3 separate regions of the Homo sapiens genome follow, and regions 1 and 2 are each linked to region 3. Evidence: promoter capture Hi-C in human tissues and cell types (Jung and others, 2019). All regions are on one chromosome and are shown on one strand. The core of a region is centred on a gene start or on the middle of the fragment in contact, and the rest is flanking DNA. Distances in the headings are between cores, read along the strand shown.

Region 1 (2,704 bases), core at 185-2,684, 220 kb after region 3:
CCCATGGCGGGAGGAGTGCTTGAGCCCAGGAGTTCAAGACCAGCCAGGGCAACATGGCAAAACCCCTGTCTCTACAAAAAATATAAAAAATTAGCCATGTGTGGCAGCATGCACCTGTAGTCCTAGCTACTCAGGATGCTGAGGTGGGAGGTTGCTTAGCCTGGGAGGTTAAGGCTGCAGTGATGAGCCATGATTGCGCCACTGCACTAGTCTAGCCTGGGCAACAGAGTGAAATCCTGTCTCAAAAAAAAAGATTGTTTTAAATAAAATTCCTGAAAACTAATTTGGCAAAGAAGGTTGTTTTGAAGTGAAATGTTTGTAGGGCATAATTAATGTTTTGTTAAATAATGTCTGGATTTTTGTTATACAGGTTGAGTATCCTTTACCTGAAATGCCTGGTTCTAGAAGTGTTTTGGATTGTGGAATTTTTTGGATTTTTGAATACTTGCATATGCATAATGTGTTTTTTCAGAGGTGGGACCTAAGTCTAAACATAAAATTCATTTTTATTTCATACATACCTTGTACACATAATAGCACATAATTTATACAGTACTTTTTAATGATTTTGTGCACAAAGTGTCGACTGCATTTTGACTCCTCACATGAAGTCAGATGTGAAGTTTTCCACTGTGGCGTCTTGTCAGTGATCAAAAAAATTTTGGACTAGAGATGCTCATCCTGTATCCCAAATATATGAACATTTATTCTGATTCTTTATATCAGGGATTCTTAAGGTACTCAGCCTTTTAACTGGTCTTTCTGTGATCACTCTTGCCTTTTTCCAAACTACCCTCAATATGTCACTTTTTAAAAAGTGCCAATTGTGGCTGGGCACGGTGGCTCATGCCTGTAATCCCAGCACTTTGGGAGGCCGAGGCAGGTGGATCACCTGAGGTCAGGAGTTCCAGACCAGCCTGGCCAATGTGGTGAAACCCCATCTCTACTAAAAATGCAAGAATCAGCTGGGTGTGGTGGCGGGCGCCTGTAATCCCAGCTACTCAGGAGGCTGAGGCAGGAGAATCGCTTGAACCCGGGAGGCGGAGGTTGCAGTGAGCTGAGATCGCGCCATTGCACTCCACCCTGGGCAACAAGAGTGAAACTCCGTCTCAAAAAAAAAAAAAAAAAGTGCCAGTTATCATCATGAACAGCAGACAAAATGAGACAAAATGATGTATAGAATTTAATATCTTCATAACAGGTTTATTTTAAGGATTCAGAGATAAGTCATGTAAAGAACTTAATGTGGTGCTTAGCACATGGCTTTCAGGAACCAGAAGTAGTTGTTACTGTTATATCAGTTTTGTGTAAAAACCACTTAGTTTGGGCCCAGACTCATTAAAGGATGGCTTTTGCCCATTCTACATAGTATGGCTTTTGCTAATTTGCTAGCCTTGACTTTTTTTTTTTCTTTCCATAATGACATTTTTTAAAAAAGCCACTATAGTATTATTGTTAATAGAATTAACAGAAATTCCTTAATAAAAGCCATTCTTAGTCCATATTCCAATTTGGTGTCATCTCAATATGTCTTTTTATGGTAGTTTTGTTTGAATCAGTCTTAAGAGTCTGTATATTGCATTTGCAGTTAGGCAGCTTAAGTAAATTTTATTCTATAACAGCCCTCCCCCACTTAAATGTGAAATTCCCCACATTCTGTGTTTGGCTTTTCCAGTCTTATGGTTTCCCAGCAATATGTGGTTTAAAAAGCCCCTCCAGGCAATTCTGATGCTCAGGTTTGCTGTAAGTTTGCTATAACCTATTTCTCTGTTTCTTGTCTTTCCTGAAAACTTGAAGTTCGATTTAGATATTTTATCATATTTACATTCCCTTTTTTTCAATAAAATTATTTTGTAGATGTTGTGTACTTCCTATTCATCAAAGTTACCTACCTGGTTGCCCCACTTGTAGTGATTTCAGGTGGTATCAGCCTTATTCTTCTATTACATAATTTGCCCTTTAACTAATGATTTTAGCATTCTTTGTTGATCATTGCCTGAATTCATTATTTTGTTAGAGTTTGCAAAATGGTGATATCCTGATTCTCTAATTTTTTATGCATTTATTTGCTGGAATAACTTTTATCAACTATTTGGTTACTCCTTGCTACAGAAAAGGGAGCATAAAAGGTGATTTCCCTTTGTCATTTTCCAAAGTAATTGGTAATGAGCTGTTCACTGCAGGTTTTTTGTTTTAATTATCATCTTAAAAGATTATCATGAGCTATTGGATTTTAGTGTGTTTTAATCCACTCCTGTCAAATTGTCTCATATTTGGCCAATGGAAGCCTTTTTAGGTTGACTTCTGTTTCTTTTTGACATGACCTCATTAATCTTTGATAACTTCTTGCTTTCTTCTGGCCTATGTCTTAATCTACACTCCTCCTTCTAAGAGTTTATCACCTTTGATTTATTTTAGATTCTGGGATGTGCCAAGCTGTACTGCTCCCTGTTCTTGATATAGTCCCTTATACCTTTTTGTTTGGCTTTTTGTAGTGATCATCTGGGCTTATTCTAATTACTACTTCCTCCAGGAAGCCTTTTCTGATTTCTTCCAGACTAGAGTAGGTCTGACTGTAACTTTGTTTCATAGCTTATTGCATGTCCTTCTGTGACATCTGTCATAGTTGTCATTGTCCACGTCTCTCTTCTTTGCTTACTTGAGCCTTTTCTTCAGTGTTAAGCATCAAGATTTATTTTATAGT
Region 2 (2,750 bases), core at 171-2,670, 170 kb after region 3:
CTGTCCTTCAATGTCTGATGTCCAGTGTCTTGAAAACTGTTGTTTCATATATTTTTTTCTGATTTATTTTTGTTGTTTTAGGTGAAAGGGTAAGTCTGGAATGATATAGATTGGCTCTGTGTCCTCTCCCAAATCTCTTGTTGAATTGTATTCCCAGTGTTGGGGGAGGGATCTAGTGGGAGGTGATTGAATCATGGGGGCAGTTTCCCCCTTGCTGTTCTTGTGACAGTGAGTGAATGCTCACGAGATCTAGTTGTTTGAAAGTGTGTGGCACTTCTCCCTTTTCTTTTTCTCCTGTTGCCACATGAAGATATGCTTGCTTCCACCTCACATTCTGCCGTAACCATGTTTCCTGAGGCCTCCCCAGCCATAACTCCTGTACAGCCTGTGGAACTGTGAGTCAATTAAACCTCTTCTCTTTATAAACTACCCAGTCTCAGGTAGTTATTTATAGCAATGTGAGAACAGACTAATACAGAAAATTGATATCAGAGAAATGGGGCATTGCTATAAAGGTACCTGAAAATATGATAGCAGCTTTGGAACTGAGTAATGGGCAGAGACTGAAACAGTTTGGAGGGCTCAGAAGAAGACAGGAACATGAGGGAAGGTTTGGAACTTCCTGGAGACTTGTTGAATGGTTTTGACCAAAATGCTGATAGTGATATGGACAGAGATGGCCAGGCTGATGAGGTCTCAGATGGAGCTGAGGAACTTATTGGGAGCTGGAGTAAAGGTTACTCTTGCTATGCTTTAGTAAATATACTGGCAGCATTGTGCTCCTGCTGTAAAGATCTGTGGAACTTTGAACTTGAGAGAAATAATTTAAGATATCTGGTGGGAGAAATTTTTAAGCAAAGCATTCAAGACGTGGCTTGGCTTCTTCTAACAGCCTATGTTTATATGTGTTGTTCACAAAGAGGTGGTCTGAATTGGAACTTACATTTAAAAAGGAAGAAGAGCATAAAAGTATGGAAAATTTGTGGCCTGACCAGGTGGTAGAAAAGAAAAACCCATTTTCTGATGGGAGAAATTCAAGCCAGCTGCAGAAATTTGTGTAAGTAAAGAGGAGCTGTGTTAATATCCAAGACAGTGGGAAAAATACCTACAGGGAATTTCAGAGACCTTCACAACAGCCCCTCCCATCACAGGCCTGGAGGCCTGGGAGGGAAAAATGGTTTTCTGGACCAGGCCCAGGGCCTTGCTGCTCTGTGCAGCCTTGGGACATGGCGCCCTACATCCCAGCCACTCCAATTCCATCCATGGCCAAAAGGGGCCAAGGTACAGTTCAAGTTATTGCTTAAGAGGGTAAGCCCCAAACCTTGGTGGCTTCCACATGGTGTTGGGCCTGCAGGTGCACAGAAGGCAAGAGTTGAGGTTTGGGAACCTCTGCCTAGATTTCAGAGGCTGTATGGAAACACCTGGACATCCAGGCAGAAGTCTGCTGCAGGGGCAGAGCCCTCATGGAAAACCTCTACTAGGGCAGTGTGGAGGGAAAATGTGGGGTTGGAGCTACCATCATTTGTTAAAGACTACACAAAATAAAAAGATGTTGTAAAGCATGATATCCAAAGCATAAAATGTGGAAGGGTGGAGTAAAAGCATAGAATGTATGTGATTGAAGTTAAGTTGTTATCAGCTTAAAATAGAATGTTCTAACTACAAGATGTTTTATGTGAGCCCTATGGTAACCACAGAGAACAATCCTTTAGTAAATACACAAAAGATAAATAGAAAAGAATGAACACACACTATTGCAAAAAAAAATCAACAAATCACAATGAAAAACATCAAGAGAAGAAAAAACGTATTATCATTGCAATCAATGCTTAAAAACCATTGACAAAATCCAAAATTTTTAATGATAAAAACTCTCAACAAATTAGGTATAGATGGAATGTACCTCAACACAATAAAGGCCATTAATGATAAGCCCACAACTAATATACTCAATGATAAAAAGCTGAAAGTTTCTTCTAAAATGAGCAACAAGACCTGAGTACCCATTCTTGCTACTTCTATTCAGCATAGTACTAGAAGTCTGAGCCAGAGCAATTAGGCAATGAAAAGAAATAAAAAGCATCCACATTGAAAAAGAAGTTGGCCAGGCAAGGTGGCTCACACCTGTAATCCCAGCACTTTGGGAGACCGAGGCAGGCAGATCACGAGGTCAAGAGATTGAGATCATCCTGGCCAACATGGTAAAACCCCATCTCTACTAAAAATACAAAAATTAGTTGGGCGTGATGGCATGCACCTGTAGTCCCTGAACCTGTGAGGTGGAGGTTGCAGTGAGCCAAGATCGTGCCACTGCACTCCAGACTGGAGACAGAGTGAGACTCTGTCTCAAAAAAAAAAAGAAGTTAAATTGTCTCTGTAGATGACATGATTTCACATGAAAGAAAAACTAAAGACTTCAATGAAAACTGTTAGAACTAATAAACAATATCTTATTACAGGATACAAAGTCAATATACAAAAATCAGTTGTCTTTATTCACTAACAGTGAGCTTCCAAAAAAGGGATTAAGAAAATAATATCCTTAGGAACAAATACAACCAAGGAGGCAAAAGAGCTATATACTAAAAATTATAAGACATTAATGAAAGAAATTGAAGGCACAAATAAATGTAATGATATACCATTTCATTGATTGGAGGAAGTAATGTTGTTAAAATGTCCACATGTCAAAGTGATCTACAGATTCGTTACAATCATTATCCAGATTCCCATGTAATTTTTCACAGAAA
Region 3 (3,042 bases), core at 530-3,029:
AGCCTGGCTCCTGGCCCCCTGCTCTGTGAAGAAATGCTCTGTTGAACCACTGGCCTATGGGGAAATTACCTGACCACCTCCCTAGACCAATCTGGTCTGGGGAGATATGTTCTTTCTGCCCAGGCTTCTGGTTCCCCTGGGTCTCCTCTTCAGTACTAGCAGATCTCCAGTTACTCTGCTGCCAGTGGGAGTGTATGGGTGGGGTGGGGGGATTCTCAAAGCCATGTTACTTGCTGGGAGGAGTCCTGCCATACAGCCTCTGTCACACCCTCTTGGAGGAGCCCTGCCAAGCTTGAGATCCCAGCAAAGTCCCTGCCAGGCTGTGGCTGAGTTCAAGCTGGAGCAGCTCTCCCAGGAGTCCAGATCCTATGATGGAGAAGGTGTAGGATCCTATTGTAAAGATTGGAAGTGACTCAGAGGCACACATCTGCACACTTGCACCACTACAAGGTGCACACAGGCCTGGGCACACACATGCCATGTACTCGTACTACAGATACAGGCCCCCCCACACACCCAGCTGCTGAGCTGTGAGCCCACATGCACTCATGGCTGATGGTCTCTGGTGGGCCTGAAGAGATCTCATGCTCTTCCACTCTCTGCTTCCTGACTTCTGCTCTCTGGTTTTCTATCCTCTTCTTTCTGGGCTGTGGCTCAGCCAGCTCCTGGCCTGGGAGGGCTGCGTATAGAGAAGGCCCGGCTGCCTGAGCGCTGTCCTCGGTGCTGGAGTCCTGGTGGGCTCTGCATGCTTGAGGAAAACAAGCAAGGGCATTGGGAAGAGGTGATCTTGCTTGGAGGTGCAGATGTTCATGGGGTGCCCACCAGGATGCCTACCCTTATTATTTCAGAAAATGTGCAACTGGGCTTCCTCCTTTCAATGGCAGACACTGCAACAGGTGTCCAAGCCCTCAGCCCAGCAGTGTGGGCATCTGTGGCTGTGTGTGGCTATATGGCCATTTATTGTGGCTATGAGGGGCTTCTTGAGACCTCGTGTGCCACATACAGTTGTGTACGAAGATCATGATTTCCTCATGAGACACCTGTGATTCCATGTGGCTGCCTGTGACCATGTTACTACTGGTGAACACATATGGCAGCCTGTGATCACACTGAGTCTCCTGTGACCTTGCGTAGCCTCAGACCTGAACTCGTGCGTCCCCAGATGATCTGGGCACTATCTGGTCTAGCTGCCTGATTTGTCAGAGCCTAGGTGAACACTTGCCACTCCCTCCCCTCACTGGTTTGCAGAGGTGGCACCCGGAGGCTCCCCATGTCTGCAAACTCGGGTCCTAGGGGGCGTTGGTGTCAGCGGGCAACAGCCCACAGGAGTGTGCACCTCCTAGGACAGGTAACCGCGACCCGGCTGCCATTCGAGCCTGCCCAGCCATAAAACCCAGGCTGCGAGTCGCGCGGGGGCAGGGTCGCGTGTTGATGGGGTGGGTGGCGGCGGGGTGGGCTCAATGTCACGCTCTGGCGCTCGTCGCCCGTGCTCCCCCTTCCAGCCGGTTTCCGCAGAATGCCAGGTACTGACGTTGGAGAGCGGGGCCGGAGAGGGCTGGTTCGCTCTGCGGCCGGGCCCCTCCCCCGCCCGGGAGCTTGGCGGTTCCGACACCGCGGTCAGTGCGGGGCAAGCCCCAGACCCGGCCGGCCAGGCTGCAGGGCAGGGAGTAAGGCTCGGTTGCGAGTGCGCGCCGCGCCCTCCCCCTTGAGCCGTCTCCGCAGCGGCGCGGGGAGGCGGGAGCTGCGGGGCCGGAGGGCGGGGGCTAAAAATACCCGGCAGCGGCGGCGGCGGCGCGGCTACTGCTGGGGCTGCTGGGCTGCGGGGCTGCGGGGCTGCGGGTCGGGGAGGCCGGGCCGGGCCGGGCCGGGCCCCGCTGACCGCCATGCTGACCTTCTTCCTCGTGTCGGGGGGCTCCCTCTGGCTATTCGTAGGTAAGTGCCCGTCCTGTCCGCGTCCCGGACTCCCATCTCCCGCAGGCTATGAGGTCTTCGCCCGAGGTGGAGGTGTTACATCTCCGCGGCCGCCGAGCCCCCATCCCCTGCTGCTGAGCTGTCCCGTCAAGGTCCCCAGGGCCGCCTAAGTACACCCTCCGCCCCCAGTTCTCGCGGGCTCCGGGCCGGGTTTGGGGAGCACCTGGGTCTGCGGAGGGAGATATAGGGCTTGCTCTCTGCGACCCCACCACAAACCCCCGCCGAGTTCTTGCGTCCCCCTTCCCTGATGGCAAGGACCATCCGCGGATCAGATTAGGCCCTGAGCCAAGGCCAGGAACAGACATTGCGTCCTTGTCCATCTCCTGGGACCAGAAACCGAGGGTGTTGGTCCCCGAGGTCCCACAGCAGGTCAGCTATGTAACCCGGACTGACCTAGGCTTCCTGATCCCGGCGAGGGGCTTCCTCACGACCCCTCCCTGCCCGTCCTTCAGCCAGAGTACAAGATTTCTGTAAGGTAGGGTTCACCTGGCTCCTCTGCTCTGCCCAGGGCTGCTGTGTCTCCACTGTTTCCAGACCCCTCCCCTCCACCTCACAGGAGTCAGCTTCACCACTGCACTTCTTAGGCGGCTACAAGGACCCCTGCTCGATCCCGCCTCCGCGCTTACCTCCCTCAACCCCCCATACACCCACACCTGGAGTCTCACCACAGGCCCTTTTATCTGCCAGTTCTACCACCTGCACCGGCTACTTCCCCTCTCTGAGCCTGGGGTCCTCCAGAGTATAATACCACTAAAGGATCTCCACCTCCACCCCAACCCCCATGTGCAGATTCAGCCTGATAATTTGTGTGCAGTGCTTGATCCTTAAATTGGCCTTAAACCTGTCCTAGGCCACAGCAAATGCTCTATGAATGTTAGTGTTTATTATTATCTCACATTCAAACAGCACCATCAGAAGTGGTAATAAAGCTTTTTCTGAGCCAAGGAAGGGGAGGAAGTTGACCCTCTTGAAATCTTTACCTGAGGCTTTGTACGTGTTATTTAATATTCATGGAAAACCCTAGGAGGTCGGTGGCACCATCCCTTTTTTTACTGAGTTCAGAGGTCAATT

The links. The method cuts DNA at HindIII sites, captures the fragments that hold promoters and counts their contacts. A contact is called where the count stands out against the background at its distance.
Region 1: a contact is called between a fragment that was not itself captured here and the fragment with the promoter of ACSL6 in region 3, in 1 of the 25 tissues and cell types used here (mesendoderm cells).
Region 2: a fragment that was not itself captured here is called in contact with the fragment with the promoter of ACSL6 in region 3 in 1 of the 25 tissues and cell types used here (aorta).

What each region holds. Positions count from the first base shown.
Region 1 is chr5:131,790,585-131,793,288 of GRCh38, reverse strand. All of the region lies in intron 1 of FNIP1 (folliculin interacting protein 1), which reads left to right. Among named protein-coding and RNA genes, the nearest start is that of FNIP1, 5.1 kb to the left of the region's middle. The HindIII fragment of the contact is 6,324 bases long and covers 1-2,704 here.
Region 2 is chr5:131,841,617-131,844,366 of GRCh38, reverse strand. The region is part of intron 11 of MEIKIN (meiotic kinetochore factor); the gene reads left to right. Among named protein-coding and RNA genes, the nearest start is that of FNIP1, 46 kb to the right of the region's middle. The HindIII fragment of the contact is 8,494 bases long and covers 1-2,750 here.
Region 3 is chr5:132,010,395-132,013,436 of GRCh38, reverse strand. It overlaps ACSL6 (acyl-CoA synthetase long chain family member 6), which reads left to right and starts at 1,779. Exons shown (of 21, transcript NM_001009185.3): 1 at 1,779-1,932. The coding sequence starts at 1,884. LOC124901062 (a long non-coding RNA gene) reads right to left here and starts at 1,981. Exons shown (of 2, transcript XR_007058933.1): 1 at 1,892-1,981. The HindIII fragment of the contact is 8,903 bases long and covers 1-3,042 here.